5 separate regions of the Homo sapiens genome follow, and all the other regions are linked to region 1. Evidence: promoter capture Hi-C in 16 types of primary human blood cells and fetal thymus (Javierre and others, 2016). All regions are on one chromosome and are shown on one strand. The core of a region is centred on a gene start or on the middle of the fragment in contact, and the rest is flanking DNA. Distances in the headings are between cores, read along the strand shown. Region 1 holds the start of RAMAC (RNA guanine-7 methyltransferase activating subunit). Region 2 has its middle 9.1 kb from the start of SNHG21. Region 3 overlaps HDGFL3 (HDGF like 3). Region 4 overlaps TM6SF1 (transmembrane 6 superfamily member 1). Region 5 overlaps HOMER2 (homer scaffold protein 2).

Region 1 (5,372 bases), core at 1,599-4,098:
CACATTTACATATCTGGGTAGAGCCTCTCTTTCCTGAGATTTAGTCTTGTATTTCTAACAACTCCCTGGAAATTTTCTCTTGAATATTTCACCAGTGTTTCAAATTTTACAAATGTATTTGGGCTCTGAGTTCATTTTTCCCTTAAAGCCACTTTACCTTATGGATATTCCTTTTCAGCCCCAATTTCCCAGGCTTAAAGAATTGGAGCCTTTCCTGATTTCTTTCTTTTCTTTCTTTTTTTTTTTAGATGGAGTCTCACTCTGTCGCCCAGGCTGGAGGGCAGTGGTGCAATCTCGGCTCACTGCAACCTCTGCCTCCCAAGTTCAAGCAATCCTCCCTGCCTCAGCTTCCCGAGTAGCTGGGATTACAGGCGCCCCTGACCACGCCCGGCTAATTTTTTTGATTTTTTAGTAGAGACAGGATTTCACCATGTTGGTCAGGCTGGTCTTGAACTCCTGACCTCAAGTGATCCGCCTGCCTCGGCCTCTCAAAGTGCAGGGATTACAGGAGTAAGCCACCGCACCCAGCTCCTTCCCTGATTTCTACCAATCTTTTTCTCTCGTAATCCACTCAGTAACTAAGTATAGTACTATTTACTATTTAGCGCACTATAGCGCGCTAACCAATTGCACTACTGGAGCTCCAGAATAGTACTATTCAATTATTATTATTATTTTTTTTTTTTTTTGAGACGGAGTCTTGCTCTGTCACCCAGGCTGGAGTGCAGTGGCGCAATCTCTGCTCACTGCAAGCTCCGCCTCCTGGGTTCACGCCATTCTCCTGCCTCAGCCTCCCGAGTAGCTAGGACTACAGGCGCCGGCCACCACGCCCAGCTAATTTTATGTATACTTAGTAGAGACAGGGTTTCACCGTGTTAGCCAGGATGGTCTTGATCTCCTGACCTCATGATCCACCCGCCTCGACCTCCCAAAGTGCTGGGATTACAGGCGTGAGCCACCGCACCCGGCCTTTTATTCAATTATTGTAACCTTGGTTGTTACACCTCTTACCTTTACTACCCAACACCAAGACTATCCTATTCCCTCATCCATACTATCCTATATACTTTTGCTAGGTTAATGTTTCTAAAACATTACTTGGAATATTCATAGTTCTATCATTCATTCCACAAACATTTATTCAGTGCTAACGTCATGGAAAAAGCACAATGTGGGGCTGGGCTCCACGGCTCAGGCCTGTAATCCCAGCCCTTTGGGAGGCTGAGGTGGGTGGACTGCTTGAGCCCAGAGTTCGAGACCAGACTGGGCAATACTGCAAAATTCCATCTCTACAAAAAATACAAAAAATTAGCAGGGTGGTGGTGTGCACCTGTAGTCCCAGCTCTCCGGAGGCTGAGCTGAGAGGATCGCCTGAGCCCAGGAAGTCGAGGCTGCAGTATGCCATGACCACGTCACTGCACTCCAGCCTGGGCAACAGAATGAGACCCTGTGTCAAAGAAACAAACAAACAAACAAACAAAAAAAGCACAATGTTATACACTCCAGAATGTAGAAATGCATTAGATAAAGGCCTGTTTACAGTTTAATAGGGGGAAAGACTTGCAAGTAAATAATTTTAGTTCGAAGTTAGAAAGTGGTAATAACTAAATACATGAAATTCCAGAAATATGATGGACTCTCAATAGAAAGAAAAATTATTTCTAGGTAGAGATGTCACTTTCTAAAGCTTTAAATAATGGAAAGAATTTCAACATTTGGAGATGAGGGGGAGAGACAGGTATTTCATGCAAGGGACATGAGCAATCTATAAAAATGTAATAATTTATGCATGACGTACTTCACAGGGTCTGGTTTACCACTGACTGAGGGAGAATGGAAGGGGAACAGCAGAAAATAAAAAAAGTTTTGAATCCAAGTTAATAAACTTGACCTTTAATCTACAGGCAACAGAGAGCCATTGGATCAGCTATTTTGGATCACGGTGGTGCTTGAAGATGGCTACACCTATAGCAGGTATATGTAAGATAGGCTAGTAGCAGAGTGATGCTAGAGGCAGGACATCAATGAGAAAGGTACTGCACTGACACCGTGCAGGGGATGGTAATGAGAACGTTGATTAGGTGGGGGCAGTGGGTAAGAAGATGCAAGAATTACTGTAGGGGTACAATCGACAGGACTTGGCAAGTGATTGGAGCATGGAAAGGCAAGAAAGGGCATCAAATCTGACATCAAAGTTTCCAAGTTGGTTGTATTAACAAAAACGGGTGCATAGCCTGGGAAGTAATTTGGGAGGGAAGAGGCCAAGCTTTGTCGGGATATTAAGTGTTTATACATTTGCTGAACATCCCACAAGACATGGGCAAGACTCTTGGAAGTAGCTGGATACTGACGACTGAAGCTGGAGCAGAGAGGGGGTATGTTTCTGCAAAACCACATACAAAACGGACTACGGAAATCTTACTACCGAGGCTTGCCCAGGCAGGAGAGAAAGGTGTAGCATCCCTGAAGTCATCAGTCGTGTCTACTCTTCACCGCCTGCTCTCACCTCACGTTCCCCACGAAGACTCCGGGAGCAGGCGGCCGGAAGGAGCCCTTCCCTCCCTTCTCCGGTGATTCCCAGAACTTCCGTCTCTACCCGTCACCTGCTCCCAATCAAAGGAGCTTAATAGACGGCGACGTTTTCGACTGCCCAGCCACCAGGCAGGCTGAAAGTGCATGGAGGGCATCATCCACCTTTAGACAGCTACTTGCCCACACCTCATCGAGCTCTGGGCGTTGTGCCAGCATTTGAAGAAGCGATCTGTTGCAAAGCGATCCACACGGAGAGCCTTAGTTATCGCGAGACTTGACAGGCACCCTCAACTTTAGCCCGCCGGAAGCGGAAGTCAGGTGGTTGTCGGATTTTAGAGGAAGGCGCTCGGTTACATTGGAGAACTGGAGTGGTCTGGAGTTCCACGGTGTAGTGGACCAGAGGCCACCTCTCCTGGGCTTCTCAGTGTCTCGCCGGCGGGGTTCGGCCTGAGCTGGATTGACATAGCCCTTGGCGGGTGAGTCGCCCCGGACGCCCGGGAGGAGGGAGCGGGGCGGCCGAGCTGGGTGGCCAGCGAGGTGTCCTCCCCCTGTGCGGTGATCTGTACTCTTTGCTAGACCGAAGCCCGTTTACTTCTCACGGCCCATAATTTCCCTCACTTCTGGAGGTATAAGGTGCTTCGGAAGGGAGCAAATCTGCCAGAACCTTGGTAAGCAAGCTGTGATGTGCCTTGAGGACGGACTGGAAAACGCAGTTGTTTTCAGTCTGCATCTTCGTCTGTTCCCCGGGCTCACCTCCCAGGGCAGCGAAACCCCATTCTGGTTGGTTATTTCCAGGGTTAGTCGCCCGCAGCCAAAGTTCTTTGTGGTTTTATTTGTGGTGAATAAATTAGCAGTATTCAAGTACAAATCTGAAAGGCTTACCCTAAAAGAACATACATACTTTATGAAGTTTGTATTCATACTTGAACTATTTTGCTTTTGAAGGCCCAGAGGACAAATCTTGTAGCTTCTTGCTCTTGAGAACCAGTTCCCTCTTTGGAATATTAGCTTTGGAAGTCTTTAGAGCGTTTTTTTGGTTTGTTTTTTGTTTTTTTTTTGAGACGGAGTCTCGCTCTGTCGCCCAGGCTGGAGTGCAGTGGCGCGATCTCCGCCTCCCAAGTTCAAGCGATTCTCCTGCCTCAGCCTCCCGAGTAGCTGGGACTACAGGCACATGCCACCACGCCTGGCTAATTTTTTCTATTTTTAGGAGAGACGAGGTTTCACCGTGTTAGCCAGGCTGGTCTCGATCTCTTGACTTCGTGATCTGCCCGCCTCGGCCTCCCAAAGTGTTGGGATTACAGAGGTGAGCCACCGCGCCTGGCCTTAGAGCACTTTTACTCCAATTCTTTCCTTGAATAAGACTCTTATGCGCCACCCTCCCCTACAAACACCTTTTGAGAGTTTCCTTAAATAAAGTCAAGTTTGTTTTTTTCCTCCCACAGATTTAAACAACCTAAACATTAAGCAGTACAGCTGCCTCAAACCTTTGGGGTAAGTAAAGCTTGGGTCGATTAACATTCTATTTAAATTTCGTTCTCAGTAATAATACAGTTGATATTTGTTTACATGAGTATGGGTGGGGAGTCGTGGGAGAACATATGAGAACATAAAAATGGAGTAGCACCTTTTCCTTGCCTTATGATTTTTACTGCCCATCTGGATTAGGTATGGGTCATCTTTTTAGTGATTTCTGTGATCCCACTAGAATTCTAGACATGATTTTTAATTAGCTGAATTTATTTAAAACTCATTCCTTGGATTTGAGAATTTGATATAGTTTGCCAATCCCAGACACATTGAAAGTCTGATATTTGGTATTTGATAAAGCATACTAAGAGCAATAGCCTGAAAGATAAGAGTGTCAGGCTGGGCGCGGTGGCTTATGCCTGTTATCCCAGTACTTTGGGAGGCTGAGGCAGGCAGATCACCTGAGGTCAGGAGTTCAAGATCAGCCTGGCCAACATGATGAAACCCTGTCTCTACTAAAAATACAAAAATTAGCGAGCGGGCGTGCACCTGTAATCCCAGCTATTCGGGAGGCAGAGACAGGAGAATCACTTGAATTCGAGAGGCAGAGATTGCAGTGAGCCGAGATCGCGCCATTGCACTCTAGCCTGGGCAACAAGAGTGAAACTCCGTCTCAAAAAAAAAAAAAAAAAAAGGCTGGGCGCAGTGGCTCATACCTGTAATCCCAGGACTTTGGGAGGCCAAAGCGGGCGGATTATGAGGTCAGGAGTTCAAGACCCGCCTGGCCAACAAAACCCCATCTCTACTAAAAATGCAAAAATTAGCTGGGTGTGGTGGCGCGTGCCTGTAATCCCAGCTACTTGGGAGGCTGAGGCAGGAGAATTGCTTGAACCTGGGAGGCAGAGGTTGCAGTGTGCTGAGATCGCGCCATTGCACTCCAACTCTGGGTGACAGAGCAAGACTCCGTCTGGGGGAAAAGGAAAAAGAAAAAATCTACATATTGTTTCTTGCAATGCAACAATAATTTCCGTTTAATTTTGTTGGGGTTAAAGTAGGTAGTATAAATGTTACAAATATTTGCATATGTTTGGAGGAAAGGCAGACTAATGAAGAAGTTATCACAATAGCTTCCATTGTCACATCTTTTTGTCCCAAACCTTTTATTGGAAGTTAATAAAGTAAGAAAAATAATTCGGGCCAGGCACAGTGGCTCATGCCTGTAATCCCAGCACTTTGGGAAGCCAAGGCAGGAGGATCACCGAAGCCCAAGACTTCCAGCCTAGGCAACATGGCGAGATCCCGTCTCTTCAAAAAATACGAAAATTAGCCGGGTGTGGGTGGCATGCACCTGTAGTTCCAGCAACTTGGGAGGC
Region 2 (5,372 bases), core at 2,099-4,598, 240 kb before region 1:
AGTATCCCTTTGAGAGTTATGTCCCAGCCCTGTGTCATGTTTTTATATGCAGAGGTTGACTTAGTCCTCATTATATAGCTGAGGGAACTGGGTCTAGTTCATTAACTACACTAAGGTTATAATCAGTAAGTTGTCACAGAGCTAGGATTTGAGCCCAGGCAGTCTGACTGTAAATCCCCAAATCCTAATTCCCTCCCTATATTGTCTCAACCACAGGAAAAATCACTTTGAAACCTGATTAACTGAGTTCAGGAGTTGTCACACTTTTATGGACTGGGTATAGAAGTACTCCAAACATTAATTAAACTGATTCTTTTGATAACTGCTTATAAGAAGATAAACCAGACAGACAATAAACGTTCACAATAGAAAGAGCTAAAAACAAAACTTTGGAGAATATGGACAGCCAGTTTGAAAGGAGGAATTTCTTGAATGCTGATCACATGAGACATGACTCGTCAGAAGCAACCACAGGTGTTAACTGATCAAACTGGCTAAGGATTTAAAAAGTTCCAGTGAGGGCCTAGGGAAGTGGCATTGTCCAACATGCTGGTAAATATGTATTTGCACTTCTTCTGAAGAGGAAATTTGAAAATAGGTATGTAAAGTTTCAAAAAAATTTATTCTTTTAACTAAATAAGTTAAACCTGGGTACTAATTCTAAGGAAGTCAAGATGTATGCAAAATTGTATGTACAAGGCTAGTCATTATATTACTTCAAAAATAGATTTATATATATTCTGATTATTAAAAACATGCTACTTATAAAAGAGTCAAGAAGACACAGCGATGTCCATAGAAATAAAAACAAAGACCTTAGGATTTTATCTCTTAGAACTTGCCATTGTTACAACTGGACCCCCCTACCCCTTAGTCATGTATATATATCTAATTTGAATTTTTATAACTCATTGGTTTTAAAAATGCACTTCTCTTACCTAGTTATTGATGCTCAAAATACAAATACATGCTTCCATCTTTTTTATTTTTGAGATGGAGTCTCACTCTTGTTGCCCAGGCTGGAGTGCAATGGTGTGATCTCAGCTCACCGCAACCTCTGCCTCCTGGGTTCAAGCAATTTTCCTGCCTCAGCCTCCCAAGTAGCTGGGATTACAGGCGTGCGCCACCATGCCTGGCTAATTTTCTGTATTTTTACTAGGGATGGGGTTTCTCCATGTTGGCCAGGCTGGTCTCAAACTCCCGACCTCAAGTGATCTGCCCACCTTGGCCTCCCAAAGTGCTGGGATTACAGGTGTGAGCCACCGTGCGTGGCCTTTTTTTTTTTTTTTTTTGAGAGGGAGTCTTGCTCTGTCACCCAGGCTGGAGTGCAATGGCGTGATCTCGGCTCACTGCAACCTCTGCCTCCCGGGTTCAAGCGAGTCTCCTGTCTCAGCCTCCTAAGTAGCTAGGATTACAGATGCACAACGCCACACCCGGCTAATTTTTTGTATTTTTAATAGAGACCGGGTTTCACCATGTTCCCTAGGGTGGTCTCGAACTTCTGAGCTCAGGCAATCCACCTGCCTTGGCCTCCCAAAGTGCTAGGATTACAGGTGTGAGCCACTGTGCCCAGCTGCTTGCATCATTTTATTTATTTTATTTATTTTTTTGAGACAGAGTTTCACTTTTGTTGCCCAGGCTGGAGTGCAATGGCACAATCTCGGCTCACCGCAACCTCTGCCTCTTGGGTTCAAGCAATTCTCCTGCCTCAGCCTCCCGAGTAGCTGGGATTACAGGCATGCGTCACCACCCCTGGCTAATTTTGTATTTTTAATAGAGATGGCGTTTCTCCATGTTGGTCAGGCTGGTCTCGAACTCCTGACCTCTGGTGATCCACCTGCCTCGGCCTCCCAAAGTGCTGGGATTACAGGTGTAAGCCTCCGCGCCCAGCCTGCTTGCATCATTTTAAATGAATGTCTAGTATTCTACTGTATGAATAGACCATAATTTAATCAGTGAACTCTTTTCTTTTTTTTTTTTTTTTTTGAGACAGTCTCACTCTGACACCCAGGCTGGAGCGCAGTGGTGCGATCTAGGCTCACTGCAACCTCCACCTCCCGGGTTCAAGCATTCTCCCTGCCTCAGCCTCCCGAGTAGCTGGGATTACAGGCGCCCAACACCACACCTGGCTAATTTTTGTATTTTTAGTAGAGATGGGGTTTCACCATCTTGGCCAGGCTGGTCTTGAACTCCTGAGCTCAGGCAATCTGCCCTACCTCAGCCTCCCAAAGTGCTGGGATTACAGGCGTGAGCCACCACGCCTGGCTAATTTTTGTATTTTTAGTAGAGATGGGGTTTCACCATGTTGGCCAGGCTAGTCTTGAACTACTGAGCTCAGGCAATCTGCCCTACCTCGGCCTCCCAAAGTGCTGAGATTACAGGTGTGAGCCACAGCGCCCAACCAGTGAATGCTTGATGAGCTTGTTTTTGCCTTGTTAAAATTGAAAACATGATTTATCATCTCACCCTCCTAAGTTTCATTAAAATCATACTTAAGAAATAAAAAGAGACATAAAGATATAAATAAGAGAATGGGAAAAGAAACATAAAGATCTAAACAAGAGAATGGGGAAAAGATCATTAGTAGATCAGAGATTTCAAAGAAATTTTGGAAGATAGCTGATGAAGGAATGATACTGATGCGGGGGGGAAGCAGAAGAAACTGCAGAGGGTGGAAGATATACCCCAGGAAAAAAACAATTCACACTACGGAATGCTAGAAGGGTCCAGAACCAGGAAATATCAGAGACAACTGAGTACAGGAATGAGATATAAGGCCAAGATTCCACATATGAAACAGTTTTCCTTCCCTTCCACCTCTGCATGCAGAATGCCTTACAGCCAAGAATCTACCCCCAGGGTGAAGGTGTGATAGGAGGAACACAGACCATCCAGAATTTCCCATACATTCACACATCACGCTGAAACGTTATTCTGGAAATAAATCTAAGGGCTCCGTAGAAAATCCCCTGCATTCTACCCATTACAGTAAAATGTCAGCATTCCTGTCCCATCATCTTGGCCATCAGAAAAGTTCCACACAAGAGAGCTCGTAATCCACTTATTACTTCATTAAAAAATATAAACAGTCAAGACCCCCCCACTCCAGACATTTGAGGAATACTTCCAATGTGAAATAAAGATGGGTGAGATCACGCCACTGCACTCCACCCTGGGCAACAGAGCAACACTTTGTCTCAGAAAAAAAAAAAAGAAAGAAAAGCTTAACGAACTGACATAATTTTTCTTAAATCCAGAAGAAAAGTGAGGTCACAGGGCAAACCACTATCCCCAAAATTGGAGAGGCAGACAGGTATGTACAAAAGTCACAAGCTACCCAGAGCAGAAATCTCCACAAAGGAACCAATGCCAGGGCAGAAAAACATGAACTGTAATTGAATTGCCAGAGGCAAGTGTAGACAAGTCTGAGAGTCAAAAATTCCAGAAGAAACCAGAAACAGGGGAGGGAGAACCCAAGCTTCTGTGAGTTTTACCTCCAAGAGTTTGACCAGGTTCTCACAATAAATATTAGAGAAAAATCTTGTCATGCTTCTAGCAGGAGAAGAAGAAAAAGAACCATTTCGAAACATGCCAGAGCATGCTGTTCTTAACAAAGTCTGCCCTCGGGAGAAATATTTAATCAGAGCCTAAATGGCTGGAGTTTTATCAGAGCCTAACTGGCCTGGGAGAAGGGAAAAATGCCCAACGCCAGCCCACTCTGGCCATCTTGTCCCACCTAAGGGGGAAGAAAAAAACTGAGAAGCACTTGTAAAGTTCACATTCCAGAAGCACATGCTCACTAAAAGACTGAGACCTAATCATAGGGTTCATAGAGGAATACTTTCCCTCTCCCCACACCTTACCCCCACATTACTAAAGGCCTATTTGCAGCAGTTCCTTTTCCCTGGTACATCCTGTCCAGCTATGAAGAAAAAATTACAAGGCAAACTAAAAGGCAAAACACACATTTTGAAGAGACAGAGCAAGCATCAGAACCAGACATGGCAGGAATGTTGGAATTATTAGACAAGAAATTTTAAACAACTTTGATTAATATACTAACAGCTTTAATGGGTAAAGTAGACAGCATGCAAGAACAGATGGTCAGTGTAAACAGAGAGATGGAAATCCTAAGAAAGAACCAAAAAGACGCTGGGAGCAGTGGCTTACACCTATAATCCTAACACTTTGGGAGGCCGAAGTGGGGCAGATTGCCTGAGCTCAGGAGTTCGAGACCAGCCTGGGCAACATGGCGAAACCCTGTCTCTACTAAAAATACAAAAAAATTAGCAGGGGGTGGTGGTGCGTGCCTGTAGTCCCAGCTTCTTGTGAGGCTGAGGCACAAGAATCTCTTGAACCCAGACCCAGGAAACAGAGGTTGCAGTGAGCCGAGATCATGCCACTGCATTCCAGCCTGGGTAACAGTGAGGCTCTATCTCCAAAATAAATAAATAAACAAAATAAAATAAAAACAAAAAAGAACCAAAAAAAATGCAAGAGATAAAAAACACTGTGAATAGAAAATGAAGAATGTCTTTGATGGGCTAATAGACTGGACATGGTGAGGAAAGATATGATATATGATGATATATCAACAGAAACCTTTTTTTTCTTTTTTTTTTTTTTTTTTGAGATGGAGTCTCACTTCATTGCCTGGGCTGGAGTGAAGTGGCGTGATCTCAGCTCACTGCAACCTCCACCTCCCAGGTTCAAGCAATTCTCCTGCTTCAGCTTCCCAAGTAGCTGGGACTACAGGCGCATGATGCCACGCCCGGCTAATTTTTTGTATTTTTAGTAGAGATGGGGTTTCACCATGTTGCCCAGGCTGGGACTACAGGCATACACCACCACACCCGGTTAATTTTTTGTATTTTAGTAGAGACGGGATTTCACCGTGTTGCCCAGGCTGGTCTTGAACTCCTGAGCTCAGGCAATCCACCTGCCTTGGCCTCTCAAAGTGTTGGGATTACAGGTATAAACCACCATGTCCAGCCAATAGGAAGCTTTCAAACTGGCAATAAAAGAGAACAAAGACAAAAAAAAAACAAACAAACAGAAGAGACTATCCAAAAACTATGGAACAACTACAGAAGATATAACATATGCATATTATGAATACCAGAAGGAGAGAAAAGAAAGGAATAGAATAAATTATTCATATTGTTTGAAAGAATAATGACTTGAGAGTTTCTCCAAATTAATGTCAGACACCAAACTACAGATCCAGGAAGCTCAGAGAACACTAAGCAGATAAATATAAAAAACAAAAACAGAAAACTGCAACCAGGCATATAATTTTCAAACTACAGAAAATCAAAGATAAAGAAAAAAATCCCGAAAGAAACTAGAGGGGGCCAGGTGCAGTAGCTCAC
Region 3 (5,372 bases), core at 2,725-5,224, 210 kb after region 1:
GTTTTGCAAGATGAAAAGAGTTCTGGAGATAGAGAGTGGTGATGGTTACAAAACAATGTACTTAATATTACATAAACTATACACTTAAAATGATTATTAAGATGGTATAAATTACATTCTATGTATTTTTACAATTAAAATTTTTTTTTAATTACAATGAGCACATAAAAAGCTTATTCCAAGTCTGGTTTTCACCTTTTCTTTACCTAAAATAAATTCAGGGTTTCTGCCTAATTGTCAAAGTGGTTAGTGTGAATTCCTTATCTCCTTTCACTTCCTCCTGGCATCCTATGGAGATGGGTGCAGACGGCAATGAATTTTAGTGCAGCTCCCTTCCACTTACTTGCTCTGTAACTGAGCAAGTCAGTTGGTAAAAGAGATTAATGCATTTTAGCTTTCTCATCCCTTCGAAAACAACACTGAAAATCATCTTAAATCTTATGTCTCAGAAGGTACTATCATTTAAATTTTCATTAAAGACTTTGAAATTGCCTGCAGGGAAGGAAAAAGCAATAGAACAAAATGTAAAGGAGGGCTCACTCAGGATGCAGTGTTATCTCTTTCTAATGGTAAGACTATATAGTTGTATTACAAATAATGTAGACAGTTCCAAAAACTACATTTCAATATCGTATGACAAAAAAAGCTGAAACCCAGTCTTTTTGTAATAAATTGCCAATTAAAAATGTCTCCATGTATTCTCTTTTCCACGCTCTTTCTTAGTCAGTTTTGGCTCATTCTTGTTCATTTAGTCTAATTGCAAAGATAGAAAAATCCTGTCATCATGTTTCAGACAAATATTGGGCAAAAAACTTGAGGATTGTATTTGTGACTAATTGTATAACAGGTTATTTTAGTTTCTGTTATGTGGAAAGTGTAAAACATTCCAACAAAGGTTTTTTAATGTAGATTTTTTTTTGCACCCATGCTGTTGATTGCTAAATGTAATAGTCTGATCATGATACTGAATAAATGTGTCTTTTTAAAAAAATAAAAGAAAAATATTGTCATCGAGATCTACATATATTGCACTTGTATTCCTCTATGTACATGTTTCTGTTCCTTAATCTATCTCAAGCTCTTTAATGTTAAAATCATGTCTTATTAATTTTTATAATGCTAAGTCTATCACAGTTACTAACCCAGAAGAGATACTCAATAAACACCTAATGAGATTATAATGGTAGAACATTAATGTTACCCAATTCACGTAGTTCTACCTTCACATGGAAATAACTGAAAATTTAAAAAGTAAAAGTTTCAATGACAGAAATTAAGAATGTTATATGCTTAAATGCTGAAAACCAGGTTCTTACAAAATTTGGCAAAGAATGAAAAAAGGGAAAAAAATCTCCTAGGAATGGTTAAAAAAATTAAGTTACATATACTTATATCTTAAAACAAAACAGAAAAGTTTTGAGTAAAATTCTGGATAAAGATGTATTAGTGAAATAAAAGCAAAAATGAAAACAGGTTACAAAACTAATATCCAACGAAGTACTATAACTTATGTGCTAGAAAGTATGAAATAGCAGATCACTATATTTTGACTCCATCCTGAAGTTACAAGTTATACACATTTATGTGCCAAATAAAGCCCTGACATTTATTAAATAAACGGTCAAAAAAAGGGACAGATATGTAGAAATATAATAGATATGTTAGATTTATATACCTCTTCATTTTGGAGAGAGTAGTTGACAAAAAATAAACATTAAGAATTTTAAAAAATATATTAGTAAATATCAATATATTTATATTTGTCCATTATATTTATTGACTTATTTATTAAGTCAATATACTTATTGACTCATTTATTAAGTCAATATACTTATTGACTCCTAAAGAAGCTTTCTTTTCAGGAATACAAAAACCATTTTTTAAAAGTTGATCACATATGAAAAGAACACTAAATGAATTAAAATAGTTAAAAAGGATACATAATCTGACTACAAGATAACCATATTAAAAAACAATAAAGCATTACATACAAACTCTTTAGCCAGTTATAATTCCTAAAATTCTCTCCTAAATATCTCTTGGGCCAACTCAGAAATGAAAATCACAAAACCTATTTTGAAAATGACTATAAAACACCAATTATTCAAATCTACATCATGAAGCCAAATATGACCTGAGGAAAACTAGCTTTAAAAGTTTTCATTTTCAAAAAGATTTCAAAAAAATTAAATAAGACTTTATTTCATTAAGTTTGAAATAGAAGAAAAGAAAAATATACTTGGGGAAAGGTAGTGAAGATGAGATCAGAAATTAATGATTTAGAGAAAAAAATAGAATTGATTAACAAAAAAGGGGGAAACAAAAATCCAAGAGGATTAGAGAAGGTTAGAGAGAGATGATTTTCATTTATAAGCAAAAGATAGGAAGGTGCAGTTAAAGCCTGTTGGCATCTATTTTCTCTATGAAGTATGAAGGTAAAACAATTTGCTGAAAATGAGGGGGAAAGGCTGGAAGAGAATAGTAAATGTATCTACTAACATCTGAGGAAGATGTACAAGGAGCTGACCTAGGGCATGCCCACTCTTGTTAAGCTGCACTACTTTTGTCATTTGCTTTTACAATATAAAAATAAGGGACACATTTGTTCTGGGTTACCTGATCCTTTGTAGTTAAATAAATCTTTATCCCAGGAGTGTACTCAAAACGAAGAATGGAGACCATGATATTTCATAACTCTACCAAAGGCTTTGTCCTTCCCCTGACATCACACATAGCATAAGATAGGGTCAGTGCTGAGCTGGAGAACAGCCAGAGTTCTTGAACACCTGGCATATCATAAAATTTAATCTAATCTTATTTCTTTTACTTCAAAATATTTCCATTTATAATAGTATAGTGGGTCTGTTTCTAATAACATTTTACATATTTTATGTGAGTCAGTGAGCCAGATGTAAGACATAAAACTGTGCTTACAGTAACTTTTCAGAAATGTTTCTTTTAAAAAATTGAAGAATGCCTTCCTATCATCAATACCAGGTTCTCTCTACTCAGATTGCTATATCTCACAGTAGCAAGGCAATCTCTTTTTGATAGGACAAAATAATTAAAAAGGAAATACAAAACCATTAGAAACATGTTAATCGCAAAAACTTTACATCCACTTTAAAGGGTACCACAAACCTGCCCTATCTTCAAGTTTCTGAACTTCACAAAAGCTCATCATCTTCAGTCATAGCTTGATACCTCCACAGTCTAGTCCCACAAACCAGGAAAACTCCACAGCCTCAATATCATCAGCCACGGAACACTAGTTTGTCAAACACTGTATATAACTCGGTAGTCAGCAAACGTGTGGAACTTACTACCTTTAAGAAGTCAATTATAGGCCGGGCACGGTGGCTCACGCCTGTAATCCCAGCACTTTGGGAGTTCGAGACCAGCCTGCCCAACATGGCAAAACCCCATCTCTACTAAACATCTAAAAAATTAGCCGGGTGTGGTGGTGTGCGCCTGTAATCCCAGCTAATTGGGAGGCTGAGGCAGGAGAACCTGGGGGCGGCGGGGAGGGGGTGATGAGGAGGGTGGTAGAGCTTGCAGTGAGCCAAGAACACACTACTGCACTCCAGCCTGGGGTGACAGAGAGAGACTCCGTCTCAAAAAAAAAAAAAAAAAAAAGAAGCCAATTAATTATATATATAGTTGTTGATACATTTGCAGTTGAAAGATTAAAAGGAAGATGAGAATTAAAATCTATATAACTAACCTTTTGGGATCAGGGGACATATTGGCCTGGATAGTTCAATGACCTAATACACTATTGCTTTAATTTATGTTCGTGTGACCTTCATGTAAGACTGTGGCTACAGCAGAATAAAAAGCTCAGGACTGTTAACAAATCATCCTCTCAAAAATCCAACTTCTGTTCTATATAAACGCATACAACTCACAGAGATTACTTTCCCTTTGGCCTACTGACCAGACCAGTGTTTTTCAAACTGTAGGTAATGAAACTCATTTAGCAGGTTGCAACCTGACTTTACATAAAATGAAATATAAAAATATCAGAATGTATCACATATAGTAAGTACAACTTGAAAATTTTTTTGTTATAGGTGCATCTTAGTCCATTTTGGGTTGCTGTAACAGAATAAATGAGGCTGGGTAATTTATAAAGAAAACAGGCTTTATTTAGCTCATGGTTCTGCAGGCTGGAAAGTATAAGCATGGTACCAGCATCTGCTCAGCTTCTGGTAAGGGCCACGTGCTAACTCAAAACATGGCAAAGAAGGTCAAAGGGAAAGTGGACACGTGAAAAGCAACCAAACAGGAGGAAGAAACTTGCTTTATAACTCACTCTTGCAAGAACTAATCTATTCTCAGAGAACTAATCTAGTCTCCAGAGAGGGAGAACTCACTACCACAGGACCAGCAACAGTACCCAAACACCTCTCGCTAGAACCCACCTCCCAACACCACCACACTGGGGATAAAATTTCAACATGAGTTTTGGAGGGGACAAACGGATCATATAAAAATCTCAGCAGTGTGTGTGTGCATGCATGTGCACGTACTGGGATGGGAATTAATATTTATTTCTCACTGTAGGTTACAGTCAAAAAACCTGAAAGCCGTTAGACTGCAATCAATCAGCAACAACAACTCATTTCCAAAGTCTAAATATTTTTTTCAAAATTATTGACTTCATCATCATGTAGTAGTCCAGGGAAGGAGATAAGAGAAGTTATAACTTGTTTTAAATTAGTTGGTTTCATTTGGAACATCAAATAGTGGTCTAGAGGGAATTTTCAATCCATTCAACATATGGTAACTCTAAAAGCATTAACTGAGAATTTATACTACTACTCCCTCTGAACAAGCATTTCCTCCAAGATCAAACATGTTATTAATAATAAAGTACTACTTCAGTGTCAAAGGAAAAGGAAATAGAGATCTGAAGTTGAGTTTATTTTCTGACCTGTCTACATCATAAAAAATCCTTAATCTTCTGTGAAACTCATTTTTATATGTGCTAACCACTACTGAAACTATCACTTAAAACCACTCTCATCTCGTATTTTGCAATAGAAACTGAGAAGTTATTACTATGTGATCAGAAATTTTCCAGTCCCCATACAGGCAACCTGGCAGCTACCACTGACTCCCCTACACTGACACCTCTACTTCTGGGTAGCTGTATAGACTCTATATTCAGACTTAGAGAATCTATTCAGAATATGAGTTTCAATGATCAAATGAGAAGAATAGTTTATTCTTAGACCCTTTTTGTATGTTAATGTGGTCCAGTTTATCTTGTCCCCAAATCCTGAAGCTCTGTGGAACTTCCAGAAATGGCCTATCACAAGCCAGGTGCAGGGGCTCACACCTGTAATCCCAGCACTTTGGGAGGCCGA
Region 4 (5,372 bases), core at 1,257-3,756, 130 kb after region 1:
TTTTAATTTGATTTGATCTGTGGGAGAGATGACAGAGCAGTCCTTGCCCCAGGGGAGCATGAAGCTTAAGAGAAAGCCCTGCTTGCTTGGCTGATTGATGGGCTGGTTGATCTGCACTCTTCCTTGTTGTAGAAAGGACTTAAGGCATCTTACAGCGTGAAACAAGCCAGGACAGCATGAACGTGGGAGAAAGAGGAAAGGAAAACAAGGTGGGGCCAAAACAACAGTAAAAATGCACGGAAAATTGATGACAGTGATTTTCTAGAAGCCACCTGGAAATGTAACCACCTAGAAAAGGGAAATGTAGTTCGTCATATAATCTTGTGTTCATAACATTAACATTTGCCCAGGAGAAGTATGGCTCTTCTTGGTCTCTGCTAGGTATACTAGCTACGTGACCTTAGGAAAGTCTTGTAATCTCAGAGCATCTGTTTCCTCATCTGTAAAATGGACTCAATCCTGTCCATCCCACTGGGTTGTTGGGAAGGTAGAAGGAGGGGTTGGGTGTGAAGCTCCGAGTTCGGTGCCTGCCTGCCTATGTGTCAGTATGTGGGGAATGAGTGTTGTGCCATGCCCAGCCCAGCAAGCCACGGGATCAGCATGAATTATTAAGGCCAGCCACTGGTTCTGGAAAGCAGGGTCATCCCTGGCCACCTCTCTGGTCACTGCCAAGCACCTTGTGTCAAAGATTTGGCTTGGTCTCCATGAGTTTGCCATACAGCCAGGATTGCCTATCATGCCATCTGCCTTCGCATCACAGTACAAACCTATGTTGATGCATCATGGGCCAATTGGCCAGGCATTCTCTAATTCCATCCTCTGTGGCCAGACCCTGGTTTTGGCAGCTCCAGCGTAAAGTTGTATTTTCATGTTCCTACCAATTTTGAAGAAATAGTTTCATCTTAGCAGATGAACACAAGTTAGTTCTGCTGTTTTATTTTACTTGCAATACAGGTCTGATGTTCTGCATTTACAGGTCTTATTTAAAGTGGACTTCTTTTTAATGCTTTCTTTAGGGTGAACCGTATCTGAACACCGCATATGGGCACATGATCTGCTACTGGGATGGCTCTGCTCATTATCTGATGTACCTGGTGATGGTGGCAGCCATAGCATGGGAGTAAGTCAGTTCACCTGGTGTGTGCCTTTGCCACCTTAGCAACCGATAAGCGGGTATGTAAGGAAACGTTATGCATAGAGGCAAATACACAAGCAGGTATACTGGACATGAATATAAGTTCCATGGGTGCACGTCAGACGTGGCTTTATCCTCCTTGTACCACTGCCTTTTGAATATGTCCTTCTGAATTGCTCCCTAGCATGGTGACAGCTCGGGCAGACCCTTTAAGCTTTCTGATTATGTTGTCTTACAAGAATAATTTTTATTTTCAGCAATTAAAGCTAAGCACATCTTAAACTTCATTTCAAAACTTCAAAATTTCCAAACAGCAATCTCATTTCGGTTCAAAGCTTCTGTCCTTCCCCAGATCAGGCACAGCTCTGCGGCTTGGCTCGCACTAAGGCTTGGCTACATGGCTTGTCCGTTCACTCCTCCTGTCTCACTCTGCGGCTGGCCCCTTGGCAGTGGATGTGTATGTACAAGGGATTAAAGGAACAGGAGCCGAGTCTGATGTGAAAGGTGCTGGTTTTTGGGTATTGGTACCCCCATCATGATATGCTAGCTTGGTCTTGGGAGGCACACATGTGAGTTCTTTAGAGACCCCAACCACAGGAGCTTCTGCATTGCACTAATCCCTGAAGTGAACGACGTGCTCTTGGGCTGAATTTCTGCCCATGGTGGCACACCCACAGCTTTTTTTCTGCTGGGGCCCCTGTAACCCAGAAGGTACACCCTTTGGGGAGGGGTCTTTTCAAAACATTTCAAGTCCGGCCATCTTCTCAGGCCTCCACTTGCTTCTGGGTTACAGAAAGTCATGCATTCTTGCCCCATACAAGGTTGAAATGTAGTTTACCCAAGTATCTCCCTCACTCCCAACATGCACTCAAGGTCAGCTCCAGCTAATTCTTTTTTTTTTTTTTTTTTTTTGAGACAGGCTGGAGTGCAATGGCACAATCTCAGCTCACTGCAATCTCCGCCTCCCAGGTTCAAGCGATTCTCAGGCCTCAGCTGGGACTACAGGCGTGTGTCACTATACCCGCAAATTTTGTATTTTTAGTACACAAATCTAAACATTTTTTTCACCATGTTGGCCAGGCTGGTCTCAAACTCCTGACCTCTGGTGATCTGCCCGCCTCAGCCTCCCAAAGTGCTGGGATTACAGGCGTGAACCACCGTGCCCGGCTCCAGCTCATTCTTATCTGTTCTCCTGCTTATAATCCCAGTCATTATGAATGGGCCTCTTGGGGTCTGGTTACATTTGGCTTGAGGGCGGGGGTGGGGCAGGACGCACACAGTATTCTCGTTTCCCTTCAGAGAATTTCCTTTTGAATTTCTCATAGCCTGTTACATAGTGTGGAGTTTGGGTTATTGGGGTTATCAATTGAAGGAACTTTTTTTTTTTATTTTGAGACGGAGTCTCGCTCTGTCACCCAGGCTGGAGTGCAGTGGTGCGATCTTGGCTCGCTGTAACCTCTGCCTCCCAGGTTCAACCATTTCTCCTGCCTCAGCCTCCCAAGTAGCTGGAATTACAGGTGCATGCCACCATGCCCAGCTAATTTTTTTTTTTTTTTTGTACTTTTAGTAGAGATGGCGTTTCACCATGTTGGCCAGGCTGGTTTCAAACTCCTGACCTCAAGTGATCTGCCCACCTCAGCTTCTCAAAGTGCTGGGATTACAGGCATGAGCCACCATGCTCGGCCTGAAGGAAGTTTTTGTCAGCATTGAAGATTTGGGGTATATGTCTAGCAGCTCCTTTGCAACATGGGGTACATGTCACTTGTCTTCACCTTTGGGGCTTTGGCCAAAATTCTGTGACCCCAGAAAAAGTCCATTTAACATTATCATTGTAAGTATAACTCATACTTATAATGATTAAAAATATGGATCCAATTTCATTTCTTCTTTCAACTTTCTTTTTCCTTTCATGCTGTTGAGTTTCACACACAATAGGGAAATGCAGGAGTCCTGTGGCAGGGATGATCATGTTGTAGTTTAACAGAAGACATAGCAGGCGTAATTTCCTATTTAAAAGGACACGAAGAAGGTTCTATAGTATATCACATGGCAATGAAGTTACATAACCAGGGCTCCTTGTGTTTGATTTATTCCTCTCAATTCAATATGTTTTGATTGATGTACTTTACTAGTTTGAATACAAAATAATATTGAAGATCATTTTTTGCTTAGTATTCTAAGACAAACATACCAAGTCAAGATTTTTTTGTTGTTGTTGTTACAGGGAAACTTATAGAACCATTGGCCTATATTGGGTTGGATCTATTATTATGAGTGTTGTTGTTTTTGTGCCAGGAAACATTGTAGGTAAGAAACTTTATCTTAAAGTTCACTTTCCTTTTCTAAAACAATGGGGCTTGTTTTTAAATAGAGAAGCTCTTTTAGTTATAATAGAACCAAGTGATTCCAAGCTTACTAAAAACCTGTTTTGCAGAATAATTCCTTTTTCTCACCTTTAAAAAAAGTACTTTTTAAGAAGTGCTTTGAGCAATTTTCAGATGTGTGCATTGAACAATTTGGCAGTCAAGTTATCAGGGATTCCTGTTTTTTTAGAAGGATCTTGAGGGAGTGAGTATGGTGTTTATGGCTATATTTAGTGTGCAAATATGTTAACTCCTGACACACTATGAGAACTCCAAAAATGTACTTGGAAATTACAAGTACATTATTAATGTATGCAGGAAATCAGGATATATAGGTAGATAGATAGATAGATAGATATAGATATAGGGAGATAGATATATACAAACATATATAGATACCTATCTAGATGTATTTTTTGAGACAGGATCTCACTCTGTTGCCCAGGCTGGCTTGCAGTGGTACAGCCATAGCTCACTGCAGCCTTGATCTCCTGGGCTCAAGCAGATTACTGTAGATAGGACATGCCTGTTAATACACATCTAGTATTTTAAATTGACCTTTTTAATTTGGCCTCATTAAAAATATTGTCTGGCCCATAGCAAAATTTTAGATGACCTGAGATGGGGAGGTATCCTAAATATTACTTGTGTTAGATATGCTTTTGGTAACTTCTTTCTCTTTCTCTCTTTTAAATAGGGAAGTATGGAACACGAATTTGCCCTGCTTTTTTCTTAAGCATACCATATACTTGTCTTCCTGTCTGGGCTGGTTTCAGAATCTATAATCAGCCATCAGAAAATTATAATTACCCCTCAAAGGTGATTTTATTAAGCTTTGATGTACCCTGTTCTCAAACTCATAGGGTTCTTTCGCATCCACTGGCCACTGAATTGAACCATGCCTCTGTGGACTGGAGCATTTGGGGCATCCAAACAGTGCGACTGTTTTGATTATGTAGCATTAGCTTACGTATTAATTAATGTAGGCAAGAAGGTCTGTTTCTGTCTGAATACATCTGCTTCTGTTGGCAAGGCCATACTTTGGGGAGCTTCCTGTGCCAGTGGTCACACTGGCTCTAACTATCAGATTCTGCATTAGTGTGTCAAGTGAAGTCCATAGTGTGTGGTTCATCTAGGATTGTTAATGGCCTGGACGTTGAACACCTGGGTTCCTCTGTGACACCTATGCATTTACTACCCCAAGAGGACACTGGAGGGATACTGCTCCTCAAGGTAGTCTACACAGCCATACAATCTTGACTCCAGAGATCCAGGCCCATAGAGACTGGCTACAGGACATCTGAGACACCTCCCTTCCATTCACAGCCAAGGTAGTCAAGGTGAAACAGCACTGGCCTGGCAGATACTCTGTTAAGGCCTTCATTTCTAAGCTAGTTTCTCTCTGTTTCTTTTACTTTTCTAGGTATTAGATCATTTAGCAAGATCTTTTAAGCAAAACTGATATATGAAAATATGAATTACTAGAGATAATCAGAATACGACTATTCATTTTACAAAAGATTTTCAGTATAATTCATTAAAATACATTTTAATTGACAAATACTTCATTTGTAAACATTTAGACACCTTCTATGTAAACTCAGGCTGGCACACTGACAGCTGGTACTAACTTCCCTCTGAGGAAAGAGGTGGCTGTTAAAAAGAAAAAGCAAATAGTCAGTCCACCCTTAGTCCCAGCTCCACTGCTTTTAAAGGTTCCATGTCAGTGTGTCAACAGAGTAGGTATGCCATGAGGCATGCAGAATTACTTATCATTATTTTTAATGTGAAAACACAGTGACAGCCAGGGCCAAGCAGGCATTGTCATACAGTGCTGACAGAAACATAAATTCAGAATTGCTCTGCAAAGCAAT
Region 5 (5,372 bases), core at 1,110-3,609, 140 kb before region 1:
AACACCTAAGGTTTATTTTTTTTATTCATGCTACCCGTCCATGCAGGGTGGCAGGTGAGGGTAACATGAAGGGAGAAGGGGGCTGCTCCACGTAGTCACTCAGGGATCCAGGCTTGACAGAGGCTCTGTCCCTGGGACATCAGCATTTGCTGAGGGAAGGGAAGGCAGACACTGCGGAACTGCTCATGGGCATTTCAGTGTCTGTCTGGAGCTTCATGTGTCACCTGTGCTCACATTTCATTGGCCAGAATTAGTCATAGGACCCTGAATGAGTACAAGGGGGATGGAGGGTGAAGTCCTGTATGCCTCAGAAGGAAAGGAGCCGCAGATAGGGAGGCGCGTACTTTTGAGCCAGTGATAACTTCAGAAAATTACCCTAAGTCAATATTCTGAAAAGTTCGCAAGGATGTTAGAAGAACTTCATTATGTCCTTGACTACAACAGTAAAAAAATTGGAAACAACCTAAGTATCCAAGGTACAACCTACATAGAGGTTAAAAATAATGTAATTACATATTTACTGATATAGAAATCTATTCACAATATAGCATTAAAAGGGATAAAAGTTATAAAACAGTATGTATAATATGATTATATTTCATGGAAAAAGTAATAAAACACACACAGATGCATAGAAAAAAGTCTGAAAAGATAAAAACTGAAATGTTAACAGTGGTTATAATCAGATAGTGTAATAACAGGTGATTGGTTTTTTTCCCACTCATCTGGAATTTCTTTAAAAAAAGTATTATATTATTTATGTACCAAGAAAGCATTTAAAAAGGGAAACAAAAAACAGTACTCTTGGGAGAGTTCACTTATCCACTCCACTCTTCTCATTAAACTCTTATATTTGATGCAAGGAATGTCTTCTTGCCTGTCACATCATAAGACGCTGCTCTCACAACTGACGTAAAGTCGGGACTTCCTATTAAAAGCAGTACAAGAGGGTAAAAACAATAGCACAGCCTCACAGCTGTGAATCATCAGTCCTGCCCATCACTCGCCAAAACATGCACCACTTGGGACTCTGCCGTGGTTTACGGGCTCCTGCCAGGTGCCCTGGGGGTCTCTAGGGCCCAGGAGAACACTTTGCCGCAAGGCTCTGCACCGTCAAAGAGAGTAGGGCACTGAACAATTCCACTTCAAACAAAAGATCCACAAACTTCTGGTAAATGGATTCCAGAACATAGATCACCACCACCAGAAATAGAAAATAAAGTCTCCTCTTAGGTATACATATTTTTAATTAAAAACGCTTCCTTACTGTTTCTCCCACTTCCCCTTTTGCTGTTTCTTCACACACACACACACACACACACACACACACACACACACACACGCGTGCGCACATACACAGTCGTAAGTTCACTAGAACATTTCATCCAGCTCAAAATTCTTACCAAAGCCACCTTCCTGCCTGGGTAGTGTTTAAAGCCAACTAGAAAACCCATATTCTTGAGATCGGTACATGGAAGAGGCATGTAAGTAACATTTTCTAGACTAGACAGGAGTCCCTCTCCATGCCAAAACCCCCATCATCTCCAGAATATATACTGTTTCTTTGGGGAAGCCATGTACTCAGAAATTAGGGTCCTTTTAAAGCATGCATATCTTTAAAAATATACATGGACATTGATCTTGCAAGCTTCTAGTTTGCAAGTGCTTCAAAATCTAGTGATGTCTCAAGGCAATGAAAGAATTTAGCTTCTAGAAGGATGAATGGAACAAACAATCCACTTCTGGATATTAGCAAAGACCAGTGGCTGCCTCTTTTGAGTGCCTGTGCTAAGTCACATCACGTCTGCCTTCTTCCCAAAGGTGCACCTGGCCACATGTGAGGTCCCACCATAACGTCCCCAGCGCGTCCTGTGGTTGGCTCTCATCCAAAATTGTCCCTGGTTTCTATAGAGAAGGAGACTTTTCTAAAGAAAAAGAGCCCTGTTAAAATAGGCAGAGCATGATGTTTCTGGGAGGCATATTCACTGTATTACGCTCCACCCTTTACTTGATGTTTTGCATCAAATGTAGTCCACAGCAGGCAGGCGCCTGCCCACCACCATCAAGGCTGTGCTCATGGAGCCTGCAGGCTGGAGACCAACTGCCCTCTGTGCACAGTCTTCCTGGGTGTTGATCAGGTCCCGTTCAAGCTGCTCCCACCACTGAGCAAGGCTGCTCCCTCCCCAGAAAGCCAGAAAGGAGTGCATCTCCAGGAAGGGGCGGGCAGTGGACAGGCCACCCCCAGCCAGAACTCTGTTTCCATTCCTGCGATCTCAGGGCCTCCCACTTGTTTTGAACATACTGCTCTGCCTCCACTAAAGCCATCAATAAAGAACTCAGGGTGTGTTTGTTTTCCATAGAACTGGCCTCACAGGCAGAGACATCATTTTAACCAACTTTCTTGGAAAGATTCCTGCAAAACCAGAATCATTCCAAAGTGGAACTTATCATTTATAACAAACATTCCTAAATGTCATTCGGATTCACATTTTTGTAAACTGTCCTTTGCTGTGGACACATATTGAAATAATATAATTGTAATATGCTCTTATCAGGATATAAGAATTATTTTCTCTTGGCACCCACGGGTCACCAAAGGGACTAGAGTGGCATGTCTCAAAAGATACTGCATCAAGGTCCAGGAGACCTGGATGCAGAGTCCACGCTGCTGGTCACCGCTGGGTGACCCTGGGCGTGTCACTTTCTCTGTCTCTACTTCCCATCTGCAAAATGCAGGTGACAGTCTCTGCCCTGTTCTCTCACCCAATTAAAGTCTAATGTGATGGCAGGCAGGAGAGATGAAACTGAGGGGCCACACAAGTTCGAGGTCTTGTGTGGATACTGGTTCTCTTTCCCTCCAAGGCCTGACCATACTGTCCCAACCTGTTGCTCTGGTGGTTTTACATTCCCCGGGCGGCACTAGGAAGGCTTCCTCGCCACTCCCAACTTTAAAATGCATCCAGCTGGGTCTTGACTGGAATGAAAGGTTATTTTTAAAGGTCCTCTTGGTTAAAGGGTTCCAAGTTTTAGTTGATCTTTTTTAGACACCAGGTTTCATGGAGGCAGAAGGAAAGCTTATCAAGGTATAGCAGCCAGTCTTGGAAACACCAAAATCAGGAGACCTCAATTGCAAACTGAAAATGCAGTCCTGGCCCTGCAGCTTCCAGGCAGCACAAGCGGCTGCGATGCTCACGAGTGAATGGCTTACATTCTGCCTGAGTCTGGCGTAAGGTTATGACAACAGTACTGAGACTGGGCTGGATGTCAGAATAAACGAGGGCACGTCACACCAGCTCAAGGGAACACCGTCCAGGTTGCTCCAGGGCCACTATTTTAAAAGAAAGTAAATGAAAAGACACTGAGATCTTCAGAGAAAAGCAGAAGGAATGGAAAGTTCAGTGCTTTTGTAAAAGCTGTTGTGCTTTCACGGCCAAGCCCAACTTACCTTTCCCTTTAAGGGAGTCCTTACTACTCTTAGCTCCAGGGTTGCAACAGCTGTAGAGCTGGACACACAGCAGGAGGAATCCAAGTTCCTCACCTGCTGCCCACAGGATGCTCACCACACTCTTCAGTGCTTGGTGAACTGGGATCATGGGTCTCAACTGCACAGCAGCCCACTGTGGAAATGGCTCTTCCAACATTTTCTACACCTCCACTTCTGGAGTTTTCTAAAGTCACTGCTATCAGAATGTACAAGTGGCTTCAGTAACTATTCTATGCATGTCACCTGAGCATTCTCTTGTCAGTCAAGCGGGCTCTTTCTAGATTCATAAGTCACCTGATAAAGGCAGAGGTCATCTGAAGACCCCAGCGGAAGGTGTTTGGAACCCAGTGTCCACTGCTCCCAGGCAGCCACACACCCAGCCTGCTGCTGGGCAGACCAGGCTGGCTTGAGAATCCCCTTATCCCGCTGCTGGGCCACGGGGCTGACTCATAGCCAGCTCGGCTCTCTGGTCTCCTGGTGCAGCCAGGAGGGAGCTGCTACCAACTGTCCTGAGAGCCGTCTGGAGCTCTGGGGAAAGGGAAGGGCCAGCAGCAGACTACCCCGAATCACAAAGATGGCTGGCCACGCTTTCCACTTCCTGTCTGCCAAAAGCCCTATGTACTCAACCAAAGCCCCCACTCACCTTGCGGGAGCTCCTCTAAAAGTGCCTTGGTGCTCCAGATGCCCAGCCTTCCCTTCCATCCACATCCCAAACAAGACTCCCCAGCTCAGAGAGGCGTCTCCGTGAGGGGAAGGGAAGGAGAGCAGGAGGACTCGTGTTCACCTTGGGGCCCAGGGCACCTGGGTTCGGACCCCATCTCCCTCCTTCCTCGGGTTGTTTGCTCATTAATCCAAATTCAGCAGGGAGAAAGTCTAACCACGTCCATGGGAGAAGGTTTCTAGAAGGAGTAGTCCTCTTAGGTGGTTCTCAAAGGGGTGAGGGGGCACCAAAGCCTCCCCCCTGCTCAAGGCATTTAGAGATGTGTGGGGCCAGGGATTCAAGCCATTATTGCCACACACGGGCAATCTCCCAGGGCAGGATGCCAACAGCACCCACAGGCCCGCTGGCCCCACTGAGCAGCTCTGTGAGAGAGGAGAGGTTTATGGCTGCAGTCCCTTCCCTAGGAGAAACTGAAAAAGGCAGGACGCAGAGCTGGGTGGAACACCTCTGTCATGAGGGCCAAGGCTTGTCAGCTGAGCTGCTCTCTCCCCCCGAAATGCCTGTGATTTCTTCCCAGCTGTCCAGACCCATAAGACAATCCTACCCTAGGTACCAAGCCCTGGGCAGCCCCTATACCTGGAATCCCTGGGTCACCATTCCTAGGGGAGAAGGTGATTCGAGGGTCTGGAGAGCCCCAGGGGCAGAGCATCACGGATGGGCTCCAGGGGCCTGAGACCAGCTCCTGCTGCTTCCCCTTCTCCCTCCCTGCCCCAGGGCCACCCGAGCCCCAGCTTGGGTTTGACCAGACAGTGGTATTCATGTCTGTTAACTACCCAGCACAGCAAAGATGGTGCATCATTCGACAGGGTCCCAGCTCTGCTGTGGGGTTTGATTAAAACACTAAATTCTGTGTACACATTTAATTGAACAAATATTTATTAAGCACCTACTTTGTGCCAGACATTGTGCTAGGCACCCTCACTGTGTGCTGTTCCCACAGCACAATCATCTGCTCAGAAATTAAAACCAAGAAAAGGAACACTGTTGCAACCGTACAAACTGGGGGGGCGGGGGGCAGGGGGCAGTAGCGTGGATGCAGGCAACTCCGGGCCAGAAAATGCACCCACCAGAAGCTTGTTTTCCATCTCTCAGAAAGTTTCCACTAAACAGTTGTTTTAAAGCCTCTCGATGTTGACAGAGAGGAATGTTGTTCTCTCTGTGCCCCCC

Evidence for each region. The method cuts DNA at HindIII sites, captures the fragments that hold promoters and counts their contacts. A CHiCAGO score of 5 or more calls a contact.
Region 2: a fragment that was not itself captured here is called in contact with the fragment with the promoter of RAMAC in region 1 in 13 of 17 cell types (total B cells, total CD8 T cells, non-activated CD4 T cells and 10 more); the score reaches 10.4 in total B cells.
Region 3: a fragment that was not itself captured here is called in contact with the fragment with the promoter of RAMAC in region 1 in 1 of 17 cell types (erythroblasts); the score reaches 5.3 in erythroblasts.
Region 4: a fragment that was not itself captured here is called in contact with the fragment with the promoter of RAMAC in region 1 in 1 of 17 cell types (neutrophils); the score reaches 5.6 in neutrophils.
Region 5: a fragment that was not itself captured here is called in contact with the fragment with the promoter of RAMAC in region 1 in 17 of 17 cell types (megakaryocytes, M2 macrophages, M0 macrophages and 14 more); the score reaches 36.7 in megakaryocytes.

Annotation. Positions count from the first base shown.
Region 1 is chr15:82,983,362-82,988,733 of GRCh38, forward strand. RAMAC (RNA guanine-7 methyltransferase activating subunit) reads left to right here and starts at 2,849. Exons shown (of 4, transcript NM_031452.4): 1 at 2,849-3,008; 2 at 3,975-4,023. It also overlaps a transcript of HOMER2 not described here. The HindIII fragment of the contact is 1,767 bases long and covers 2,265-4,031 here.
Region 2 is chr15:82,738,826-82,744,197 of GRCh38, forward strand. It overlaps the pseudogene ACTG1P17. Among named protein-coding and RNA genes, the nearest start is that of SNHG21, 9.1 kb to the right of the region's middle. The HindIII fragment of the contact is 255 bases long and covers 3,222-3,476 here.
Region 3 is chr15:83,194,439-83,199,810 of GRCh38, forward strand. All of the region lies in intron 1 of HDGFL3 (HDGF like 3), which reads right to left. Among named protein-coding and RNA genes, the nearest start is that of HDGFL3, 11 kb to the right of the region's middle. The HindIII fragment of the contact is 4,252 bases long and covers 1,849-5,372 here.
Region 4 is chr15:83,118,562-83,123,933 of GRCh38, forward strand. TM6SF1 (transmembrane 6 superfamily member 1) reads left to right here. Exons shown (of 10, transcript NM_023003.5): 4 at 1,017-1,120; 5 at 3,360-3,442; 6 at 4,196-4,317. It also overlaps a transcript of HDGFL3 not described here. Among named protein-coding and RNA genes, the nearest start is that of TM6SF1, 14 kb to the left of the region's middle. The HindIII fragment of the contact is 2,076 bases long and covers 1,469-3,544 here.
Region 5 is chr15:82,843,920-82,849,291 of GRCh38, forward strand. HOMER2 (homer scaffold protein 2) reads right to left here. Exons shown (of 9, transcript NM_004839.4): 9 at 5,064-5,372. Among named protein-coding and RNA genes, the nearest start is that of WHAMM, 37 kb to the left of the region's middle. The HindIII fragment of the contact is 1,426 bases long and covers 1,647-3,072 here.